Regions from separate parts of the Homo sapiens genome. Here regions 2 and 3 are each linked to region 1. The links are contacts of gene promoters, found by promoter capture Hi-C in human tissues and cell types (Jung and others, 2019). All regions are on one chromosome and are shown on one strand. The core of a region is centred on a gene start or on the middle of the fragment in contact, and the rest is flanking DNA. Distances in the headings are between cores, read along the strand shown.

Region 1 (2,907 bases), core at 290-2,789:
AGAGCAGGGATTAAATGCAGATCTGCATTAGTCCAGAGCTTTCTGTCTCCAAACCTCTGCATGGAATAGCCAAAATTAGATGATTATGTCCACAATGGTATTCAGGAACAATGGCATGTGAATAGTTTGGCCTCAGGATCTAGTAGGAGAACTGTTATAGCCAGACAGAAACATGCCTCCGATTTCCTTATGCCTGGAAGAAATTAAAGGAAAAACTGACATTCAGTGGATAAAGCTTTGGGGGCCAGTTCTGCTATGTTTACCTCTGCACCCTCTGTTGAAGTAGCCTTCAGAGAGAAGAAGAATGGAGCCACCAAGCAGAGGATCAAAGCAGGCACCCGCAACAAACTTGAACTTACATCAGTCATTCACTCCCCACCCCTCCAGAAACAATGGCCCTCACTCAAGAGGGCCTTCTCATATCCTCATATCCACCCCTCTCATGTCCGTTCTCTATTTTCTTCTTGCAGATGGGTATGACCCTGCTTCCTCACCCCTTTTGGCCAGCAGCTTCTTGCTTCATTTGTTTTGTTTTTTTCCTTCATCTCCATCTGAGTAGATTACACTGCTGGATTTTGTGGATTTCAGAAAGAATAACTCCAGAATATGAGCACTCTGTGTGTATACTATAAAGCTCCCATCCTTTCTTACCCTCAACCAGGTCTTTTCCAACACGTTGGACCAAAGTCCCATATTACACAAACAAGATTTCAAGGGATTTCATCAATCTGTACCATGATTTTCCCATTGGTAATACTACTTTTCTCACAAGCAAAATTGATAACAATGATTATTATTGTTATAATGTTATATATATTACATTATATATTATATTATAGGCCCTTCATTTGCATAAGGCACCAAAACACAATTAAACTCCTTTAAATTTAATTCAGCTAAAGTTTTTCTTTTAACAGAAGATTGTTTGGAAAGCTAAGTCTTCCCTCTGTCATTGAGTGAATGTTTTCCTCAATATAAATATAATATTATATATATTATATTTAATATATAATAATGTTATAACATTATAACAATAATGTTATATATATTATATATATAATATTTAATATATAATATATATTATATATAATATATATAAATATATTATATATAATATATATTATATATAATATTATATATAATATATATTATATATAATATTATATATAATATATATTATATAATAAAATATATAACATATATGATATATTATATATTATATTATATAATATATATTATATAATTATATTATATATTACAATTATATAATATATATTATATAATTGTATTATATATAATATATAATTGTTATAATGTTATAACAATTATATATTATATATATTATATATTATTATAACATATAATGTTATAATAATATAACAATGAATATTATTGTTATAATGACCTAAATTCGTATGTGAAAATTTTGTTCCCTTTGAGATAAAAGTATTTTTGAAAAATACCCCAAAGCCACTTACCCTCATTGGGTTGTACTTGAGTTCTTTCTTCCTCAACTTTCTGCCCACAGTTTCACAACTCAGAAAGCCAATTTCTCTTACAGCTTTATAGCTTTACTAAATACAACAGCCAGCCTCTCTTTAAAAACCTCCCATTTTCTTTATCAGTTAAGAGACAGGAACCAGGTTACTGATAAGCTGAACCCGATGATCACACTGTTAACAAATGTTAACTGCAGTTTTCACCACATTCTCCCTATTTGAAAGATCTTTAATGAAGTTCTATTTCCAATTTTTACCTTATCTCTATAGATAGTTACATTTTGTCTTAACTATATTTTGCCTTCTTCATGAGTGACTTTCTCAGCAAAACCTCCCTAACACCATGTAGGTGGCAGGTCACTCATTTCCCTTAACGCGAGTTGGTAGTTGTAACTTCCCTATAGTCACATTTCTAGAACAAGAGTACCCATTTCTGCAGCAAGTTGCTTATTTGGTGTTTCTTTCTTTTTTTTTTTTTTTTTTTTTTGAGGCAAAGCCTCACTGTGTCACCCAGGCTGGAGTGCAGTGGCACAATATCAGCTCACTCTGCAGCAAGTTTTGTAACTGATGCCTCGTTGGCAATGTTTTTGAAAACTTTGACACATCTCGTGTGCTTAAGTGTACACCAGGCTCTGTGTGCAGTAATTTGGTATGTGCTATCCCACGCAATCCTCAGAAGCTGACAGGAGCTTCAGAGAGGAGAATTACCTTACCCAAGGTAGCAGCCAGTACAAGGGAAATCCAGGATCCAAAGTGTCTATACCTGGGCTTTTTCCACATGCCCGAGATGGCCTATCTCAGGTGGTTGTAATAGAGATTTATGGACATGTGCTGCAATTATTAGAATTCTGGATAAACTAACCTTAATTATCTATGCAATTTCTAAAAATATTGGTGACTTTCAAATAATCAGGATGTGCCATCTGCCAGAGTCTTCCCTAATATAATAGAGCATGAGATTTAGGGAGAGCACAGCCTAGTTTTCCTCTTCCCAGCTGCTTGACTTTGGGCAAATTCTCTAACCTCTCTCTCGTGTGAAGGGTATTGTTGTCAATATTAAATCAGTAACCTATGGAGGATGCTATCCATATTGATGAAATACTAGTGATTTTCTGCTCTATCATATACCCATCCTATCACACCCAGCACAATTGTGTTTAAAATAAAAACAAACCTTCTGGCAGGGCATGGTAGCTCACGCCTGTAATCCCAACATCCTGGCCAACATGGTGAAACCCCGTCTCTACTAAAATACAAAAATTTGCTGCGTGTGATGGTGCACACCTCTAATCCAAGCTACTCAGGAGGCTGAGGCACGAGAATTGCTTGAACCCGGGAGTCAAAGGTTGCAGTGAGCCAAGACTGCACCACGGTGCTCCAGCCTTGGTGACACAGCGAAACTCTGTCT
Region 2 (2,907 bases), core at 177-2,676, 48 kb before region 1:
GTTTTTAATTGTTATGTTTAACATCAATATTTTTGCTTTTCCGTAACTCTTAAGTTTCTTTCTTTTTAAAGTTTTTCTGATTTCCAAAGCAATTTACACTCAATGTAGGAGATTTACAAAATGAAGACTGAAAGAAGAAAATAATCTCAACATGTATAATATTTTAACATGTTTTCTTGTACTTTTTATAAATGTTGTCACATAATTAAGATGTTTGGCCGGGCACAGTGGCTCATGCCTGTAATCCCAGCACTTTGGGAGGCCGAGATGGGCGGATCATGAGGTCAGGAGACTGAGACCATCCTGACTAACATGGTGAAACCCCGTCTCTACTAAAAATACAAAAAATTAGCCAGGCACGTTGGCAGGCACCTGTAGTCCCAGCTACTAAGGAGGATGAGGCAGGAGAATGGTGTGAATCCGGGAGGCGGAGCTTGCAGTGAGCCGAGATCTCATCACTGCACTCCAGCCTAGGTGACAGAGCAAGACTCCTTCTCAAAAAATAAAAGATGTTTAAAAGATTGCATATCCTGCATTTCCACCTAATATTACATAATGAGCATTTTTCCTGTGTCACAAAACTCTTTGTTAAAACCATTCTAATTGCCACCTAATATTACTTCATGTGGATATATTATCATTTACCAGATGTATTATGAGATAATCACATGACCATCTTCACAGGTAAGCCAGGATGGCTCAGTTTTTTTGCAGGATGGGCTCAGGTGGCAGCCTGGGTGGATTTGAATCTCCATTCTACCTTCAACCAGCTAACCGACTGTGGGCAACTGACTTGCCTGTTCTGTGCCTCAATTTTCTTATCTATAGAAGGGGATAATAATACCATCTCCTGGAACTGATGTGAAAGTTAAATGAGTTACTATTGCAAGTGTCTGGTGAATGGTAATACCGCTTAAATGTTAGCTATTATTATTTGTCTACATTTCTTATTATTTCCTGGATGTTACTCGATGGCAGTACAGTGATTGAGTTGAAGACTACATTGAAACCTGACAGATGCATGCTGACAAACTGCATTCCAGAAGTGTTGCAATATTCATATTCTCTCACTCAATAGCACAAGACAGCATCTATCGACCACACCCAGAAGCACACTGAGCAGCTTTACTTTTAAAATGTAATTAGACAGCCAAAATGGAAAAATGGTATCTCATTGTTTTCTGAATTTGCATTTCTTTGGGTATAAATGAGGCAAATATTAATCACTTATTATCAGCCATTTTATTTTCATGTTTATGAACCATCTCTTTATGTCTTTTGTCCAGTTCTCAGATGTTTGTCTAACTTGTTGTTTACTTTCTCTCTTTTGTTATGCTAATATATGACAAATTTTATATTGATGTAGTCAAACCGATCATTCTTTTGCTTTGAGATGTTTTCATTGCTTTTAAGTGTAGAATATCCTTTCCTGTTGGTGGTCAAATAGATGCTTACATAGTTTCTTCATTTTTATGGCTCAGTATTGTTTTGTTTTGTTTTTATATTTAACTTTTTTCATCCACCAACAATTAATTTTCTTGATTGACATGAAGATAGGGAGTAACTAAACTTACTTTCCTCAAATACCTACTAATTACTTCTCTATTGTTAATTAAATAATCCTGTATTTCCCCTACGGTTTGCTGACACTAGCTTATAATGTACAGGTCCTCCCTGAGCACTCTACTGCAAGTCTAGCACAGCATGCTTTTCCAAATGCAAACATGCACATGCACACACACGCACACACACACACATGCTCACACACACCAATGTTCCTCTACCCTCCCATGTTTAGTTTTTCTATTCATAGCACTTATCACTAACTGTCATATTTTCACTTTATGTCTGCTTGTTTCTTTGTTATTTGCTGAATTATTGAATGAATTACATCCATAAAATATACATAATTTTGAATCTAGGTGATCATCTGATCCATTGGCACATCTGCACAATCTACTTTTGAAATGCTTTTTAACGCATGATATCTTGGAAAGTATGTTTTAGCAACTAATGTGAAGTCTAGGCCACCAGCTCTCACCCAAGTTTGGAAAAAAATAATGATGCCCGGGCTCCACCCAGTGGTCTGGAGGACAGACTGGGCATCTTGAGTCCTCAGAACTCCGCAGGTGACTCTAACATACAGTCAGGAAGAGAGCCGCCGACGTAGGGCACTTATTTGTATTCTCAGGAAAGTACATTTAATACATCTTAAATGCATATATTTGGTGTGTCTAAGACATATTAAATATTTGTGCATGTACATATGTACGTACGTGTGTGTACACACACATAACGAATAGTCACAAACTTACCTAATCACCCAAAGGCATGAAGTTTTCTCTAAATGAAAAAAAAAAGTTTCCTTCAAAAATTGGGTGACCTAGGCTTAAGGTCAGTTCCAAGCTGACCACTCTGTCTCCCAAGGCAGCACAGTAAAAAGCCCTTCCAGAGGGTCCAAACAGTCACCTGAACCCCTGGCTCTGCCCAGTTGCCCTTGTTTATGGGTCCCACCCTGAGAAACTGACCTTTCTCTAAAAGTAATTCACAGAAACACATAATGTACAGGGAAAGAGCCATTTCAAAGCTCTTTCTAATGAGGAACCTGAGATTTGAGGAAGTGAAATGGCCAGCCTCAGATTACAGCTATTCACAAGGACACACATGAATCAATGTAGATGCCTCAATATAAATCACTCATTAGCAACACATACAATCGAGCAACTCCTGAGACAAAATGCCTGGATGAAAATCATAACACCAGTTTTTTTTTAATATAATTTTTCTTCTACAGTGTTCCATGCATAGTCGTTTTACTCAGCCTGTGAGATGATAAAACAACCAAATGCAAAGAGGAGAAAATGATCTTGGGGCATAACATACACACACACACACACGCTTAAACTC
Region 3 (2,907 bases), core at 278-2,777, 34 kb after region 1:
TCAGCAATTTTTTTGGGTAGAGACAAAAAAAAAAAAAAAACCTCAAAAGAAACCTAAAGGAAATTTCAAAAGATATGCACTGTTTTACTGGGGTTTTTTTCTTATTTATTTATTTATTTATTTATTTGTTTGTTTGTTTGTTTGTTTTTTGAGATGGAGTCTCACTCTTTCACCCAGGCTGGAGTGCAGTGACACGATCTAAGCTCACTGCAACCTCCACTTCCCGGGTTCAAGTGATTCTCCAGCCTCAGCCTCGTGAGTAGCTGGGACTACAGGCATGCGTCACCTTTCCCAGGGAATAGAAACGCACTGTTTCTAAGAATGCTGTTAGATTAGCCACTAAAGAAGAAATGGTGTTCATTTAAAACAAAAGAAAAGAAAAGGAAAAAAGAGAGCTCTGAAAGAAAGCTTGCTCTGTCTATGTACAACAACTACCCGGAGGCTTGTGAAACAACAGCGGAAACCTTCTTAGGTGAGTTGACATTCCTTGCCCAGAGAAGAATACAACTGAGCATTTCATTTTGATGGGCTTAGTGAAAGCTGCTTGTGTGCTACACAGCCTAGAGGTATCTTGGTAGAGAGAGACTGTTCCCAGGGGTTCCAAGTTAGAGAGGGCACATTACAAGGCAGGAGGGTGACCCCACCCAAGTCCCTCAATTATGAGTGTGGACTGGTCACCAGAGTCCCCAGCACAGTTGTGGTCCATTGAACGATAATGGAAACTTCATCTGGAATTGCAAACCAAAAAGAGAGAACCTCCAAGGCTATGAGTGCCTCGTGGCAGCAATGGCCATTTCCCATTACGACCCATGTGGTGGGGAAGAGCAGTGGCAACACTCCTGAGCTCCCTGGGTTGATGAAGCAGGTAGTATCTATAATAATTGTGAAAATTTTTTTTAATGGAGAAACATGTACTATTATCTAAGGACCTAATTTTGACCTAAAGGCAAAAATCCACATTTATTTTGCAGGGCCATTCAATGGGAATGCCATTGAGGAGAATTCCCTCTTACAATGGCTCATTGTGCTCCCAGGCTCCTTTCAGATCTACTGCGGCAGTCATAGTCTTGCACCTATTGTCAGATTACTGGAGCAATCCCTGTTGACAGTGGCTCCTCATTTGCATGTAGCATGTGCAGACCAGCATTCAACTTCAGCCAAGATTACTCTTCCTCACCAACCCCAGAGAGACCTATCCAGCTGAAAACACTGGGAAAATGACTGCAGCATCCCTGAGTGGACAGCTCCTAGCAAACAGGCAACAAGACTGTCCCCACTTCACATGTTTTGACATGAGAGGAAACCCTTGCATTCAACAAGAGAGGTCAGTCCCAGAGACTTATTAATGGGTCAGAAATTCAATTCACCTATATTGATTCAAACTCAGCTGAAAGTTTAAAAAGGTAAAAGGTGAGTGTAGATTTTTTTTCTATGCCCATTTTTCAGTCATTACACCCTAGGAAGTGGTCTTTCTAGGAACTGGAGAATAGGACCAGTGGTTTCCTGACACCTTCTTTGGGGTGAGAAACCCTGACATAAAAGGACAGGTGTTCAGCTGATGTGCATTGACATTGACAACCATGTCATGTACCTTACAGGAAAAGTTGAGAAGAACCACAACCATAGGCAGCGCCTCCTCTAGAATCACACATTATCTCAACAGAGATCCAAAAAGCTAACATTTTTTTAATGATCACAGCAGCTGCTTAATTCAAGATACTCAATATTTCTACATGTATTAGTATAACAAAGAGACAGTTCCACATTTTTTTTTTTGAGACAGTTTCTTGCTCTGCCATGCAAGCTGGAATGCAATGGCATGAACACCACTCACTGCAGCCTTCAACCTCCTGGGCTCAAGCAATCCTCCCACCTCAGGCTCCTGAGTAACTGGAACCACAGGCATGCACCACCATGACTGGCTAATTTTTTTATTTTCTGTAGAGGTAGGGTCTTCCTATGTTGCCCAGCTGGTCTTGGACTCCTGAGCTCAAGCGATCCTCCTGCCTCAGCTTCCCAAAGTGCTGGGATGACATGCATGAGCCACCACATTTGGCGTTCCACCACTTTATATAAAACTAAGTCAGGGCAATGAAGGAGAATGTTATATTTGACAAGGAGCTGTAAAAAAAATTAAAAATCTCAAGATCCCCAAACTCATTATGCTAAAGGGAGAGTTAAGCCTGCACACGGAGTCACTGAACACCTCCATCCTTTTCCCAGGTGAGTAGCTATTATTGCACAAACTGGCATCAAAACATTGTACATTAGCCAGACCCCCCATGGAAAGGCAAAAAGCCTCAAGCATGGCCAGATGGCTGCCCTCACAGATTGTTCTTTGCTGGCGTTGAAACTTTTCAAGATGTATATCCTCTCATAAAACAAGGACATGTCAATTGTAACTTTAGGTCTGCAATGTAAGTCTAGCTCCTAAAACTGAAGTCTGTTAGATTTCACACTGACAATGTGGATTACAAGTTTATCTTCCAGATACCAGAGCATCACCTTGTCTTTGTTCTCTTCCAGGTACAGGATTTTCTCTTCCAGGTACAGAATGAAGACAAGATGAGATCAATCATTCCTCCACCTACCCTGAGACATGTGCATAATTGAGTCTTTATTTACTCCCTTTTTCTTCAGGCATTCACCTTACCTTATATAAAATATAGATTTACTGAGCACTAACTAAAGTCTCGCAAAAATGTAACCATTTGCTTTACACGTGCCCTCCCCTCTTCCTATAGCCTTCTCTCCTTTAGGGAACTGTATGAATACTAAGCTCCTGAAAACCTCTTCAGAGAGCTCAAGCCACAGATGTTTGCTGTGACTTGTGTTGATGAAAGGAGTCAAACTCTGTAAAATATTTGAAAATATTTATTCTGAGACAAGCCATGGCCCATAACACAG

Evidence for each region. Contacts are between HindIII fragments. The study calls those that stand out against the background at their distance.
Region 2: a fragment that was not itself captured here is called in contact with the fragment with the promoter of IL1RL1 in region 1 in 1 of the 25 tissues and cell types used here (neural progenitor cells).
Region 3: a contact is called between a fragment that was not itself captured here and the fragment with the promoter of IL1RL1 in region 1, in 2 of the 25 tissues and cell types used here (spleen and stomach).

The regions. Positions count from the first base shown.
Region 1 is chr2:102,310,195-102,313,101 of GRCh38, reverse strand. IL1RL1 (interleukin 1 receptor like 1) reads right to left here and starts at 1,539. Exons shown (of 11, transcript NM_016232.5): 1 at 1,479-1,539. The HindIII fragment of the contact is 14,312 bases long and covers 1-2,907 here.
Region 2 is chr2:102,357,872-102,360,778 of GRCh38, reverse strand. The region is part of intron 1 of IL18R1 (interleukin 18 receptor 1); the gene reads right to left. Among named protein-coding and RNA genes, the nearest start is that of IL18R1, 3.5 kb to the right of the region's middle. The HindIII fragment of the contact is 5,320 bases long and covers 1-2,907 here.
Region 3 is chr2:102,275,694-102,278,600 of GRCh38, reverse strand. No RefSeq gene overlaps it. Among named protein-coding and RNA genes, the nearest start is that of IL1RL1, 34 kb to the left of the region's middle. The HindIII fragment of the contact is 5,826 bases long and covers 1-2,907 here.